Regions from separate parts of the Homo sapiens genome. Here region 2 is linked to region 1. The links are contacts of gene promoters, found by promoter capture Hi-C in human tissues and cell types (Jung and others, 2019). All regions are on one chromosome and are shown on one strand. The core of a region is centred on a gene start or on the middle of the fragment in contact, and the rest is flanking DNA. Distances in the headings are between cores, read along the strand shown.

Region 1 (7,403 bases), core at 3,804-6,303:
ATGAAGGAAAGATGCCAACCCCCGCCCCCAAAAGCATAGCACATATTGTATAGTTTATTTTATATAAGAAATACAAACGATAGGCCAGGCGCCGTGGCTCACACCTGTAATCCCAGCACTTTGGGAGGCCGAGGTGGGCGGATCACAAGGTCAGGAGATTAAGACCATCCTGGCTAACATGGTGAAACCCCATCTCTACTAAAAATACAAAAAATTAGCCGGGCGTGGTGGCAGGCGCCTGTAGTCCCAGCTACTCGGGAGGCTGAAGCAGGAGAATGGCATGAACCCGGGAGGCAGAGCTTGCAGTGAGCCAAGATGGCGCCACTGCACTCCAGCCTGGGCAACAGAGCAAGACTCCGTCTCAAAAAAAAAAAAAGAAAAAAGAAAAAAGAAATACAAACTATAGTGACAAAAAAAAAAAAAAAAAAAAAACCGAAGAAGGGATAATGGGAAAAAAAGTGGGATTACAGAAGGGAAGGAGGAAACCTTTGGGATGGGTATATTCACTATATTGATTGTAGTAATTGTTTCACAGGTGTATAAATGTGTCAAAACATCACAGCATACATATGTTATACATGCATGTTATATATGTTATATATACATGCATGTTACATTATATATACACATGCATGTTGTATATGTTATATATACATGCATATGTTATACTGCATATAAATTATACAATATAGACACACATGCACACAAATGCCTGTATTTATTTTTTGAGACGGAATCTCACTCTGTCACTATGGCTGGAGTGCAGTGGCATGATCTTGGCTCACAGCAGCCTCCGCCACCCAGGTTCAAGTGGTTCTCGTGCCTCAGCCTCCCAAGTAGCTGGGACCACAGGTGTGCGCCACCACGCCTGGCTGATTTTTTTTGTATTTTTAGTTAAGATGGGGTTTCGCCACATTGGCCAGGATGGTCACTCCTGACCTCAGGTGATCTGCCCACCTTAGACTCCCAAAGTGCTGGGATTACAGGTGTGAGTCACCACACCCAGCCATCTTACAGGTTTTTAAATAGCTCTGAAAATATTCAATAATGATAAGTGTGTCATTTTAAAATTAGCAAATTCTGTTGTGTCAGAAGAGAAGTACAGGAGTCCAACACCAGGGCTACTTAAAATATTTCCTATGGTGAGATTCTGGTATCTGCAGCAAATCTGGCTACTCCAATGCCAATTGCTTACTATTGCTGCTATGGAAACTAAAATTAATGCCAGGCAGTTGAAATCAAGCAAAGAAAGCAAAACTAATCCCTTGTTATGCATAGTGAAAAATAACCTCTTTGAAACACTTTGATATTCACTGAAAAAGGTCCCAGAAGTTACCACATCCCAATTATTTTCCAAAAGGAAAAATATCTTCAACTTTTAGATAAAATAATCTGCACTGCTTATAAAGCTAGAAAAATACCACCTTTGCTCTTACAGCATGTTGTTTCAGTGGTAAAAATTTCTTTTTAAATTTCAACTTTTATTTTAGATTCAGGGGGTATATGTGCAGGTTTGTTTCATGGGTATATTGTGTGATGTTGAGGTTTGTGGTACAAATGATCCTGTAACCCAGGTAGTGAGCACAGTACCCAAAAGGTAGTTTTTCAGCCCTTATCCTCCTTCCTCCCTCTCCCCTCTAGTAGTCCCCATTGTCTATTGTTTGTATCTTTATGTCCATATGTACTCAATGGTTAGCTCCCACTTATAAGTGAGAGCATGTGGCATTTGGTTTTCTGTTCATGCACTAATTCACTTAGGATAATGGCCTCCAGCTGCATCCGTGTTGCTGTAAAGGACATGATTTCTTTCTTTTCATGGCTGCATAGTATTCTATGATGTATATGTTCATTTTCTTTATCCAAGTCATGATTTAATTTAATTCCTGCTTTTTCCATGAATTAAAAATATTCTTTGTCTCTGAGGCATCTTATATATTCTGCAAGCATCTATAAAACAGTAACAGGCTAGCTTATTAGCTTGCAAGTAGGATAAGACTTTTCACAGTTCTTGGCAGGCATTATCTACTAAAGTTGAAGATACTCGTAACCTGTAACTCTGCAACTCTACTCCTAAATGTATGCTCAACAGAAATGCATGTGATCTGTACTAAGAGACTTATACAAGAATGCTCATAACAGCATTTTTAAAAACTTCATTCTTCATGCTTTTGTTTAAAGTCTCTTTTTAATCCTACCTCTCAAGGCTAGAATGGTCCATAGTTAGAATTGGCGGTCACAGTATGAACTCATTGTTAATATAGATACAGAAGAATACACACAGAAATATTTTATAGATACAGTCATGCATTGCATATTAACTGTTCAGTCAACAATGGACTTCATATATGACTGGTGGTGCCACAAGATGATAATACTGTATTTTTACTTTTTTTACATTTAGATATGTTTAGATATGCAGGTTGCCTACAGTATTCAGTACATTAACATACTATACATATTTGTAGCCCAGGAGCAATAGGCTATACCATATAGCCTAGATGTCTAGTAGACTACACCATCTAAGTTTGTGTAATTACACTCTATGATGTTCTCACAATGACAAAATCACCTAATGATGCATTTCTCAGAACACATCCCCATCATTAAGCAATGCATGACTGTATGTGTATATACCCAGATTAGTACACACACATCTATTTCTTTACTCTGTTAGCTGAAAGGGCCTAAAACAAACGACACCCTAGCACCTGGGTGCTAGCAACAAGTACACCTAGCACCCAGATTTTGGTTTCTAAATAGCATTCTCCAAAAAAGGAACCAGGGCTCCTTGGAGAAATGGTCGATTCTAGGACTGGGACAGGAAACATACAAGATGAGTCCAGAGTAGTGCCAAAAAGAAAGTACTTAAAAACAAAAACAAACAAACAAAAAAACCCCACACAGATGGCATTGATGGGGCATGTCATAAGAGCACAGGAACCAACTGAAAGAGCTCCCAATGGCTAAAGCTGGAACAATTTGAGCAAAATAAAATAGCATTATAATCCAAAGTATAAAGTGAATATCCATGAGTCTATACTGATATAAAGGTTTGAACAAACCAATAAATGGAGAAGAGACAAATCTGTGCAGAATAATTCCAAAAAATTTATGTATATATACTCCAACCTTAAGAACAGGAGCATGGAGCTGGGCACAGTGGCACACACCTATAATTCAAGCTACTCGGGAGACTGAAGCAGGAGGATTGCTTAAGGCCAAGAGTTTGAGGCTGCAGTGCATTATGTTTGCACCTGTAAATAACAACTGTACTCCAGCCTGGGCAACATAGCAAGACCCTGTCTCTAAAAATATTAAACAGTGGGGGTGGGGAATATAACTCCCCATTCCTTAGGTGTGGCTGCACACCCAGGAGGTGGAGGTTGCAGTGACCTGAGATCCCATTCCTGCACTCCAGCGTGGGTGATAGAGCGAGACTCTGTCTTAAAAAAAAAAAAAAAAAAAAAAAAAGAAAGAGAAAGTCACTTTCAGTGATGGTAAGTTAGTATCTCCCAAGGTGATTTCATTCTACTTTTCAACAACTTTAATAATTAGAAAGTTCTTCCTGCTGAGTTGAAACCAGCTGCTCTCTAATTTCCTCATTTATTGCATGAATGAATGAATGAGAAGTTAACTAGCTCCATGAGAGCAGGGACACATTCTGATTCTGTTTTACCTTACTCAGCACCTGGCACTCAGTAGACACTCAAAGATTTGTGAATGAGTAAATGGTGAGTTGGCTGGGGGAAGGGCTTCAACTTCTATAACCCCCCCTACACATACTTACTAATACACCCACATAGCTATGAATACATATATGCAAAGGTTACAAGAACTTTTTGGAGTAGTTACTGGTATGTATGTGGATATGTATGTTTGTGCCTATCAGTTAGTAATCCATAAATGTTCATTTAAATCTTTACACCCTTATACATAGGTTTTAAAAACAATTTAACTAAAGCTAAGAGAAGTAAAGTAATCACGTGCACAATAAGTGAGAAAGGAGTGGGGTCAGTCGTGTCCCAAGTCCCTGTTAAAGGTGAGGAATGAATCAGAAACCTGGGGCTGGGGCAGTGCCTTCTCAGCATTTCTGGGGAAAAGCTCCTCGACCAGCAGCCAAGCAAGGACTGTGTGGCTTTGGGCAAATCACGTCACCTCTGGTTAGGCTGCATCCTCACCTGAAAACAAAAAGCTTCTAAACGGGAGGTGAACGCTGAGCGTGCAGGGACAGAGGGGAGGGGCAGGCGCGGGGGACGGGACCGGGGGACCAGAAGGTGGAGGAGGGACAGTCACTAATGGGCACCTGGGGGACGACAGAATCTGGACAACAAACTCCCGTGACACGAGTTTAACCTATGTAACACACCTGCACACGGACTCCTGAACCTAACATAAAAGTTAAATTAAAAATAAAAACAAAAAGCGTGGGCCCAGTGGCCTCTTAAACCTTTGCCAGTTCCAAGGCCCTGGTATTCTGGGCTTTTGTTGCTACTGTTTTGTTTTTTCCAAGCTCTGGAGTGTTTGCAAATTTAAGTTTAACACTGCCCCATCATCTCCAGCAAGTCACTTTCCCTGCTCAGTCTCCTCACGGGTCCAGTGAGGCGCCGGCCTACAAGGATCTTCACGGTCTCTTCCATTCTTTACTTTTCGGAGTGACCAACAAAGCCTAAAGCAAATAAAATTTACACTCGCAGGTGGGTGACGGACTTCTGACAGGGAAAACCCCGAGGGAGCCCTTTCCACACCGATTCTCAAGGGGAAAATAGGGTGGGCAGGATCTCCTCCCCTCACCCGCCAAAGCCCTGAGGTAAAGCTCTGAGCTCGGCAAGTCAGAGAGCACTACGCCGGCGAAGAACGAAGAAAGAAAAACGCGAAGAGACAGGTCTGCCGAGGCCTCATCCCCAGCGCTGCAAACCCACCTGCTCACCAGGTCCTCAGAGACCGCTCAGGGTTTCCCAAACTTCCAGAACGTTCCGTGAGCAGTGAGAGGCGCCGCCGGTAGGGCAGAGCGCCCAGGGTGCCTGGGGCAGGGTTCTGCAGTCGCTGGGCTTCTGCGCAACCGCAGACCCCGCAAACCTTTTCCGCGCTTCTGGCTCCCTAGAGCGAGGTTTGCAGGAAGCCGGAAGTGGTTAAGAAGATACAAGATTTGTAGGCCTGGCGCGGTGGCTCATGCCACTAATCCCAGCACTTTGGGAGGCCGAGGTGGGCGGATCACGAGGTCAGAAGTTTGAGACCAGCGTACCAACATGGTGAAACCCCGTCTCTACTAAAAATGCAAAAATTAGCTGGGCATGGAGGCGCGCACCTGTAATCCCAGCTACTCGAGAGGCTGGGGCAGGAGAATCGCTTGAACCCAGGAGGCGGAGGTTGCAGTGAGCGAGATCGCACCACTGCACTCCAGCCTGGGTGACAGGGCAAGACTCCGTCTCAAAAAAAAAAAAAAAAAAAAAACAAGATTTTTGCGTGTTAGACTCAGTTGTCCGGAATTGATTTTCACAGTTTTCTAAAATTCAGGCTCAATTCTTAGATTTCTGTCATTTGCAACATAAAATCAAAGTGGCCTTCAGTTTATCCAAATTATGAAAAAGGTAGATTTTCATGAGCAGCTGTCAAAAGGACATACAGGGGCCTGTGTGTTTGCTTTTTAGGACCCCATTATGTTCAGACCTAATTGAAGCTCAGCAATTTATTAAGTGTCACAATCATAAAAATGTAAAAAGACAAAGACCACTACTTGCCTTGAGCCTAATGGTTAGGATACAAAACTATGTGCCTTACTTTGTAAAACAGGTATTCCTGTAGAAAGAAAGGTGCTCCAGGAAAAATCCTTTGGAGCACACTTGTGATGTGCTGTTAATTTTTCCCTGTGATAACCATTTTGTATGTTTGGCATTTTGTATAACTGATATTAAAATTAGGTGCACTCTTGCTGCCTCATTTGGGCAGTTTGTTAAGCCACCACACCTGGCCTCTTGTTTATAAATTACCTGGTCTAAGGTATTTTGTTATCGTGGCCATAATGGACTAAGACAATTCCTCCTCTCTTCAAATCTCCAGAACTTATTCCTCATCTTCATTTTCGGCTGAAGTGAAATAGTTACTGCTAATATTTCATAAAGATTTATGATTTTAATAGTATTTAGTATTTAATATTAAATACTATTCAAATGAGATAAATAAAAGCATCCAGAAACGAAGTTCCACAGATGTCCACCTACCAATCTACCAACATCTATATGCCAGATTCTGCTTTCTTTCCAACTATAGTAGGTGAACTGTATAATCCTATGTAAGGCCAGCCCTCAAATGGACAACAGAGCCCATCTCTTCTTGCTTACCCAAGAATATAGCTCCACCGGCCAGTCGCGGTGGCTCACGCCTGTAATCCCAGCCCTTTGGGAGGCTGAGGCAGGTGAATCACAAGGTCAGGAGATCAAGATCAGCCTGGCCAATATGGCAAAACCTCATCTCTACTAAAAATACAAAAAATTAGCCAGGTGTGGTGGTGCACACCTGTAGTCCCAGCTACTTGGGAGGCTGAGGCAGGAGAATTGCTTGAACCTGGGAGGCAGAGGTTGTAGTGAGCCAAGATCATGCCACTGCACTCCAGCCTGAACAACAGAGCAAAACTGTCTCAAAAAAAAAAAAATATATATATATATATATATATATATATATCCACCAATTATTTCCTGACTCTTACAATCTTCAATTTTCTCCTCTCCACTGAATAGTCTCAATAGCAAATAAATATGCCATTATTTCTCTCATCTTAAAATCTCTTAATCTCCTCTCCCACACCAGCTAACAATCCATTTCTCTGCTCTCTTTACAGAAAAACTCAAAAGGATTGTCTATAATTTCTGTTGCTAATGCCCTTTTTTCCCATTCTTTATCAAATTTATTCCAATCAGACTTTTTCATTTCCACCATACCACAGAAATTGCTCATGTCAAAGTCATTGGTAAATCCAGCAAACAGCTGTCAATACTAATTTTACTTGGTCAATCAGCAGTACTTGTTACAGTTGATCATTCCCTCCTCCTGGAAAAACTTTCTTTCCTTGGCTTCCCCATATCATGCTCTCATGGTTTCCCTCCAGCCTCACTGGCCATTTATCAGCATCCTTATTGGTTCTTCCTCAAAACCCAACCTTTTAATCTTGCTTGGAGTGCCGCAAGCTCAGTCCTTGGACCTCTTTTCTTCTCTGGGTATATTTGTTACTTTGGTGTCCTCCTTAACTCATAGTGTTAGATATCATCCATGTGCTGACAAATTCCAAATATCTATCTACAGCCCTGGCCTTTCCCCTGAACTCCAAACTGGTATAACCAATTGCTGTTTAATATTTCCAGTAATAGACATCTCAAATTTCACATGTCCAAAACTGAACTTCTGACTTC
Region 2 (7,544 bases), core at 2,146-4,645, 50 kb before region 1:
CTTAATTGACCTGATTCATCTCCTACCACCTTTCCTCTTGTTTACTATGCTCCAGTGACACAGACCTTCTTTTGTTTCTAGTTTAAATGTTATGAATTTTCCTATTTGGCCTTTGTATATGCTTAAAATTCTCTTTATCCTTAAATGTCACTTTCTGAAGAAAGCCTTCACTCACCACCCAATTTAGGTTGAATCCTTCTATTATAATTACCTTGACCTTGTCTTCTTTTCCCACAATGTTTATTAAAATTATTTTTAAAATATATAATTTTATAATGTAATATCTTCTGGACTTTGAGTTCTATGATAATAAGGATTGTGTATTTGTCTTATAGGCATTGGGTATTTGTGTGAGTTTGTGCATTTATATATGAATATAGCTAGGAGTACATTCGTATGTAAATGTTGAAATACTGGCTATCATTTGCATGTTCACCATGTATGAAACATTATGCTAATAACTTTATATGCATTATCTCATCCTTATAATAAGCCTGTGAAATAGAGCATTCTCTCATTTTACAGATGAAAATAACAGGCTTAGACAAGTTAATATACCACTGAAGATCTAACTACTTTGTGGCATAGGTGGGATGCAGATAGCTCTGTCTGACCCCAGAGCCTATACTCTTAAGCATCACATTCTATCACCAAAATAACTTATACAGCATATGTATATTAACTTGCTAGGGCTCCTGTAAAAAAGTGCTACCAACTGGATGGTTGAAATAACAGAAATAGTTTGTCTCATAGTTCTGGATGCTCCTTCTGAGGGTTGTGAAGGAGAATCTTCTCCATGCCTCTCTCCTGGCTTCTGGTGATTTGCTCACAATCTTTGATGGTCTTTGGCTTGTAGATGCATTATCCTGTTCTCTGCCTTCATGTTCGTATGCTGTTCTCCCTGTGTGCTTGTGTCTGTCTCCAAACTTTCCTTTTACATAAGGACAACAGTCATATTGGATTAGGGCCCACCCTAATAATCTCATTTTAAATTGATTACCTCCATAACCCTATCTCCAAATAAGGTCAAATTCTGAGGTACTAGAGGTTAGGACTCCAACATATCTTTTTTGGGGGAGATACAATTCAACCCATAACAATATGTATGTGTGTACATATCTCTGTGTGTGTGTATAATATATATATTTGTTTTGTTTCTATTTTAGCCCATTGTACCTTTTGCAGTTTAATATGGGGCACATTGAAGTCTTTTTGCAAAGGTAAGATCGTTTAGATGGTATCTCAAAATGAAATAGTAGTGTTAAAATAGTCCTTGTTAAGATCAGCGGAGACTGCCTTTTCTTTGCTAAGCTCTAATTAATTAATTGGTTATTTTATAAAACAGCGAGGCAAATAATTCACGAGAGAGACAGAAATGAGTCAAGGAGGTTTTACACCAAAGTCTGTTTTATTTTAAACTTAAGACAGTATTAAGATTTTGTCTTAAGGGCTTTTACAGTCATCTGTTTCTAAGGTTTCTTCTCTTACTCCAAAAGTTGGTAAATTAAAACACCTCTACCCCACTGCATCCTCCTCCATCTTAAGGAAGGGCAGTCAATAAAAGAAGTTCTTCCGTATTTTTCCTTCATGGACACAGTCTGTGAATTGCATCAAAAGGAAGGAGGTGTCTTGACTTCCACCTTTTATAATTTAGATTATTGACAGTGATGTCATTCAATTACAACTTTTCTCATTTGAGGTGCTAAGCAGCAGGACTTTCTATTTAAAAAAAAAAAAAAAAAGCCAGGCACGGTGGCTCACGCCTATAATCCCAGCACTTTGGGAGACCAAGGCGAGAGGATTGCTTGACCCCAGGAGTTCGAAACCAGTCTCTCTCTCTACAAAAAATAGAAAAAATTAGCCAGGAGTGGTGGCGCCTGCCCGTTGTCCCAGCTACTTGGGAGGTTGAGGTGAAAGAATCACCTGTGCCTGGGAGGTCTGGGCTGCAGTGAGCAGAGATCATGCCACTGCAGTCCAGCCTGGGCAACAGAGTAAGACCCTGTCGCAAAAGAAAAAAAAAAAAAAAAGGAAATTACAGAGTAACAGGTATACATAATTTCTAGACAGAAATTAAAGAATTTCACAGAACTATATGCTTTGTTTTCTTTCACTATAACATGTAACATGTTTAAATTATCCCCTGAGATCAGTTAGGGCTTTGCAATTATCCTCTATGAACACTAGTGACAGTTTATCAGTCCCATCTCTTACCAGGTGAAGGAAGATTTGTAACATGGCAATGTCCAAAGCTTCAGCATACAAGGCAGGAATTTCCAAGGGTCTCCTGGCACAAGTAGTTACTAATTCTGTAAATTTGCTGTATTATGTATGTTTTAATGATTTTATATTCATTACATTTAGTTTCTGTTATTCATACAGTGATAATATGTATTGTTTTGAATCTAAGTCCTAAATTCTTGAGATTTCCAAACTGCAGAGTCATTGAGTCTTTTTTTGAATAAAAAGAATTGGAAAGATTTTACAGAATAATCAACTGGAATATATAGCATTGGTTATATCAGGTTTAGTTAGTTTCTTAGCACTTGCTGTTGAAGATCTATTGTTTTGAAGTTAGGAAATAATCCCTGAGTAGATTTATTTTGGTCAGATTTAGTGGCCTTAGCCAAACCGAAAGACAGATCAAAGATGGATTAAAACTTTTGATCAAGTTCTTCAACAGAATTTCTCCTTAATGATATGCATTTTAAAAGTGTTAAAATTTCAGTTTTTGCTGTATTTTTCATAAGATGAAGTATCATTCTAAAATAGTTTACAAATTCATGATAAATTTTAATATTATTTTTCAGAACAGAAGAGTCTGTTATCTCCAAAGGATTGGTAAGATGTTTGTTCCCATTATAACTTAAATACATAGTTATGTCAACAAATAACAGCTGTTGACTTCACTATATATGTATCTGCATATATTTTAATCTGTAGGAGCTGCTGGAGAATAGTTTATTGAGAATAGAAGACAATAGTCTACTTTACCAGTACTTAGAAATCAAGAGTTTTCTTACTGTACCTCAGGTAAATAAAATATGTATTCTAATATTGAAAATAGCCCTTTGCCTGTTCTGAACTTAAAGTAAGGTCTTTTCTGATTCCTTTCCCACTCTTTTCTCTGCAACCTTTGAAAACTCTGGTGTAATGCTGTCCAGTAGAACTTTGACAATATGAAAGCCACTAGCCAAACTGAACACTTGAAATGTGACTAAGGAACTATTTTTTTTTTTTTTGAGGTGTAGTCTTGCTGTGTCGCCCAGGTTGGAGTGCAGTGGTGCTATCTCAGCTCACTGCAAGCTCCACCTCCTGGGTTCATTCCATTCTCCTGCCTCAGCCTCCCGAGTAGCTGGGACTACAGGCGCCCGCCACCACACCCAGCTAATATTTTTGTATTTATAGTAGAGACGGAGTTTCACTGTGTTAGCCAGGATGGTCTCGATCTCCTGACTTCGTGATCAGCCTGCCTCAGCCCCCCAAAGTGCTGGGATTACAGGTGTGAGCCACCACACCCAGCCGGAACTAAGTTTCAAATTTAAATTTTAATTTATTTAAACACGAATAGCTATTAGAGGCCACCATTATTGATAGCACAGCATCCAGTAGAAAAGCATAACTTTCTTCTTTTAACACTTTATTTCTGTAGGGATCTTGGAAAATGAAGCTTCTTTATGTTTCTCATAACTCAAGTTCTCAGGACTCCATCTAAGGCATCCACTGACTCATTACCAGAAAGACTAATACACATTGTGTTTTTCCCTCCTATGGTTTATTTTGCCCAATCCTCTTTGTTAGTTATGATATCCAAGGAAATCCTTAGATTTCAGTGTGGGAACTGGTTTTCCTAATATTTAAATAGAAAAACATGGTTTTTGTTAACATATTGTTTGATTGTTTTTAATTAATAAATTATATTTCTGTAGATTTGATTTCATTTTCTTGCCACTGTAGACATAATTGAAAATTATCGTTTGCTTTTAAAAGTACACTGTGTGACACTCTACTCAATATCACTTAAAAAATCAATTGTAGTTAGCTTTCTGGAATGGAAGGCTTAGGGAAAAATTAATTTACTTCACTTTTAAATCTCCTACCCTCACTTCTCTGAATTTTTAGTATCCTATTGATGTATTATAGTTGTTTGTTTGCAGTCAGTATAATCTGTTTACATCTGAATTTTACATTTTTTTATTTCCAGGGCTTAGTGAAAGTAATGACACTTTGCCCCATTGAGACACTGGTATGTAAATATTTGGTGACTAAAGAATAATGAGTTACAGTGAGAAAATTTGACAAATAATTTAATTTTCTTTTTAAAAATTTTAATTTGTGAAATTTTTATTTAGGAGGTACAAGTGTGGATGTATTACATGCATAAAATGGATAGTGATGAAGTCTGGGTAAGCTTTATTCATTTTATATAATAATATTGTTTGTTCCATTTTAGAGGAAAAAGAGTTTAGCTATGCTTCAGCTGTATATTAACAAGTTGGATTCACAAGGCAAATATACATTATTTAGGTATGTATCAAGCATGGCTAATTGCTAAGTGTGTGGTTGATTAAAAGTCATGTTAATGCCATGTAATTGTTTTAGGGCATAGTATGTCGGTATGTTTTACATGTAATTCAACTCTGGTTGGAACCCATATTATAAATTCTCAGTGATGGCTAGAGAAAGGGTTAATCAAATATTTCAGACATACTATATATATGTCTATATTTTGTATGACTAATAGTATATATTGCAGTTCAATCAATTGGAATACTCTAAATTTGAAATAGACTTAAAAATAATTAAACTGAGATTGATGATGCTCCTGCTGGAACTTTATGTATGTCACTAATCTCCATTACTCACAGTTCAAATTGATGGCTCTGGAATTACAACTTTGATAGGCTATGCACTATGTTAATAGTAAGAGCTTACTAATACTGCTCTTTGAGGTGGATAAGATTCTAGCAACTCTCTAAGTTAAAGATTGGTAAACTTTCTAATTAATTTTCTGTGAAGAGCCAAATAGTAAATATAGGTTTTATGGGCTATACAGTCTCTGTTGCAAGTGCTCAACTTTGACTTTGTATTGGGGATGGGTGTGTTCCAGTAAAACTTTATTGATAAAATTGGGCATCAGGCTGGATTTGCTAAAATGTCTTACCTGGGATTGGCCAATATTAGTACTGTTCTTTTTTGGCGGGTGCAGCAGTGTGATCATGGCTCACTGCAGCCTTCACCCTTGGCCCCCCAGCTTCAGGTGATCCTCCCGCTTCAGCCTCCCAGGTAGCTGGGACTACAGGTGCATGCCATCATGCCCAGCTAATTTTTTTGTGGAGATGGGGTTTTGCCATGTTGCCCAGGCTGGTCTCAAACTCCTGGGCTCAAGCGATTCACCCACCTCAGCCTCCCAAAGTGTTGAGATGACACGCATGAGCCATCATGCCCAGCCAACACTCTTGATTCTATCTTTTCTTGTTTTCTATTGATAGTAAGAGCAAGTTTATGAAATCTCAATTCTTAGGTATTATACCGGCTTTCCTGTTCTGTTCTATGTGTATCTCTACCAATAAATCCCCTTTTTTTCTTAAGCTAGTCATATCTAGTTTTTTTTTTTTTTTTGCAATTAAGCTACTCTAGCACTGGACTACTTTCACAGGAAATAATTTGGGGATTTTTTAGACCATTATGTTAGTGCCCTTTCTTGCCATGTTAAATTATTGTAACTATGTTCATAAAAATATTCAAATTTTGGTTTGATAGAAATGGCTTGTTGGAAGATCCAGTTATAAATAAGTATTTACCGGCCGGGTGTGGTGGCTCATGCCTGTAATCCCAGCACTTTGGGAGGCTGAGGCAGGCGGATCACGAGGTCAGGAGTTTGAGACAAGCCTGGCCAACATGGTGAAACCCTGTTTCTACTACAAATACAAAAAATTAGCCAGGCACGGTGGCGGGCGCCTGTAATCACAGCTACTCAGGAGGCTGAGGCAGGAGAATCGCTTGAACCCGGGAGGCGGAGGTTGCAGTGAGCCAAAATTGTGCCACTGCACTCCAGCCTGGGCGACAGGGCGAGACTCTGTCTAAAAAAGTAAAATAAAATAAATAAGAATTTACCATTTAGTGAGAGCAATAACTATTACAGGTGACTTTGTAATTGGTTGATGACCTTGCTAATTACCATTACTGTGGGGTTTTTATTCCTAGAAGTAACACATGGCCTCTTTGAATTTGTAAAACTTTTATCACCATTTAATTCTAATGCTGTCCAGGATAATTTCACATCTATTGTAATTTTGCTTTCAAGGTGCTTATTGAATACAAGTAATCACTCAGGTGTGGAGGCTTTTATTATTCAAAATATCAAAAATCAAATTGACATGTCATTAAAGGTAAGAACATAGCCAAAGTGTCAATTACCAATTTATTTCGTAGGGTATATTTATTCATATGTAGAATACATTAATGTGAGTTATTGCTCTATCTCTAGTATTACTATTACTTAAATATTATTAAGGCATATTTTTTCCCCTATTTCTACTATGTTTTAAAAACTCTGAATTTGGAAATTTAGTTAACTATAAGTTTAAATTGTATTCTTTGAGGTTTTGGTTTTTGTTTTTGTTTTTTTTGAGACAGGGTTTCACGCCTGTCACCCAGCTTGGAGTGCAGTGGCATGATCTCAGCTCACTGCAGCCTCCACCTCCTGGGCTCAAGCAGTTCTCCCAACTCAGCCTCCCGAGTAATTGGGACTACAGGTGTCCACCAGTGCGCCTGGCTGAATTTTGATTTTGTAGAGATGGAGTTTCACTGTGTTGCCCAGGCTCGTCTTGAACTCCTGATCTCAAGTGATCCACCCACCTTGGCCTCCCAAAATGCTGGGATTACAGGTGTGAGTCATCACTCTGGGCCTCTTTGAGCTGATATTGTGGCTTATTTTTGCTTTGTTATATGCTTCTCAAAAATGAATGGAAACTTAAGTCTCTTCTGTTTCTGAGTGCTCAGTAATTCTAAATGGAAAACAGAGTGACCAGTGTTCTCAAACTGGCAGGGTTCGTTCCTGGTGTCTGGAAAGTGAATGAAAGTACGGAAATTAAAGTTAAAAACTGTATTTTAAATGTGCAATTCTTCATTTTTGTAGTGTCAAGGTATTAGAAAAACACATGAATTACATGAATTATAAAGCTTTCTCAATTTTTCGTTTGCTTTTCAGAGAACACGTAACAACAAATGGTTTACAGGACCACAGTTGATTTCCCTTCTTGATTTGGTACTTTTTCTCCCAGAGGGTGCAGAAACAGATTTACTGCAAAACTCAGATAGGTGAGGTGACCATTACCAAAGTTCACATAGTAAATTCAGAATAAAATGTGAAACATCTGCTTAGGGAACCTAAAGTAATAAAATGTCTTTTCCTGTGATTTTATGATCTATGGCTAATTCATTAAGTTACATAAAGATTTTTCATATTTAAGTGATTTGATAATGTGTAGAAACAAAATTAAAACCTCCTCTTTCTAGATGAATGACCAGCACTATGATTTGAT

Evidence for each region. Contacts are between HindIII fragments. The study calls those that stand out against the background at their distance.
Region 2: a fragment that was not itself captured here is called in contact with the fragment with the promoter of C1orf146 in region 1 in 3 of the 25 tissues and cell types used here (adrenal gland, bladder and dorsolateral prefrontal cortex).

The regions. Positions count from the first base shown.
Region 1 is chr1:92,215,565-92,222,967 of GRCh38, reverse strand. It overlaps C1orf146 (chromosome 1 open reading frame 146), which reads right to left and starts at 5,053. Exons shown (of 6, transcript NM_001012425.2): 1 at 4,920-5,053. The HindIII fragment of the contact is 16,370 bases long and covers 1-7,403 here.
Region 2 is chr1:92,263,399-92,270,942 of GRCh38, reverse strand. GLMN (glomulin, FKBP associated protein) reads left to right here. Exons shown (of 19, transcript NM_053274.3): 9 at 1,167-1,220; 10 at 2,808-2,838; 11 at 2,941-3,030; 12 at 4,202-4,243; 13 at 4,451-4,524; 14 at 6,305-6,389; 15 at 7,211-7,320. Among named protein-coding and RNA genes, the nearest start is that of GLMN, 32 kb to the left of the region's middle. The HindIII fragment of the contact is 4,800 bases long and covers 996-5,795 here.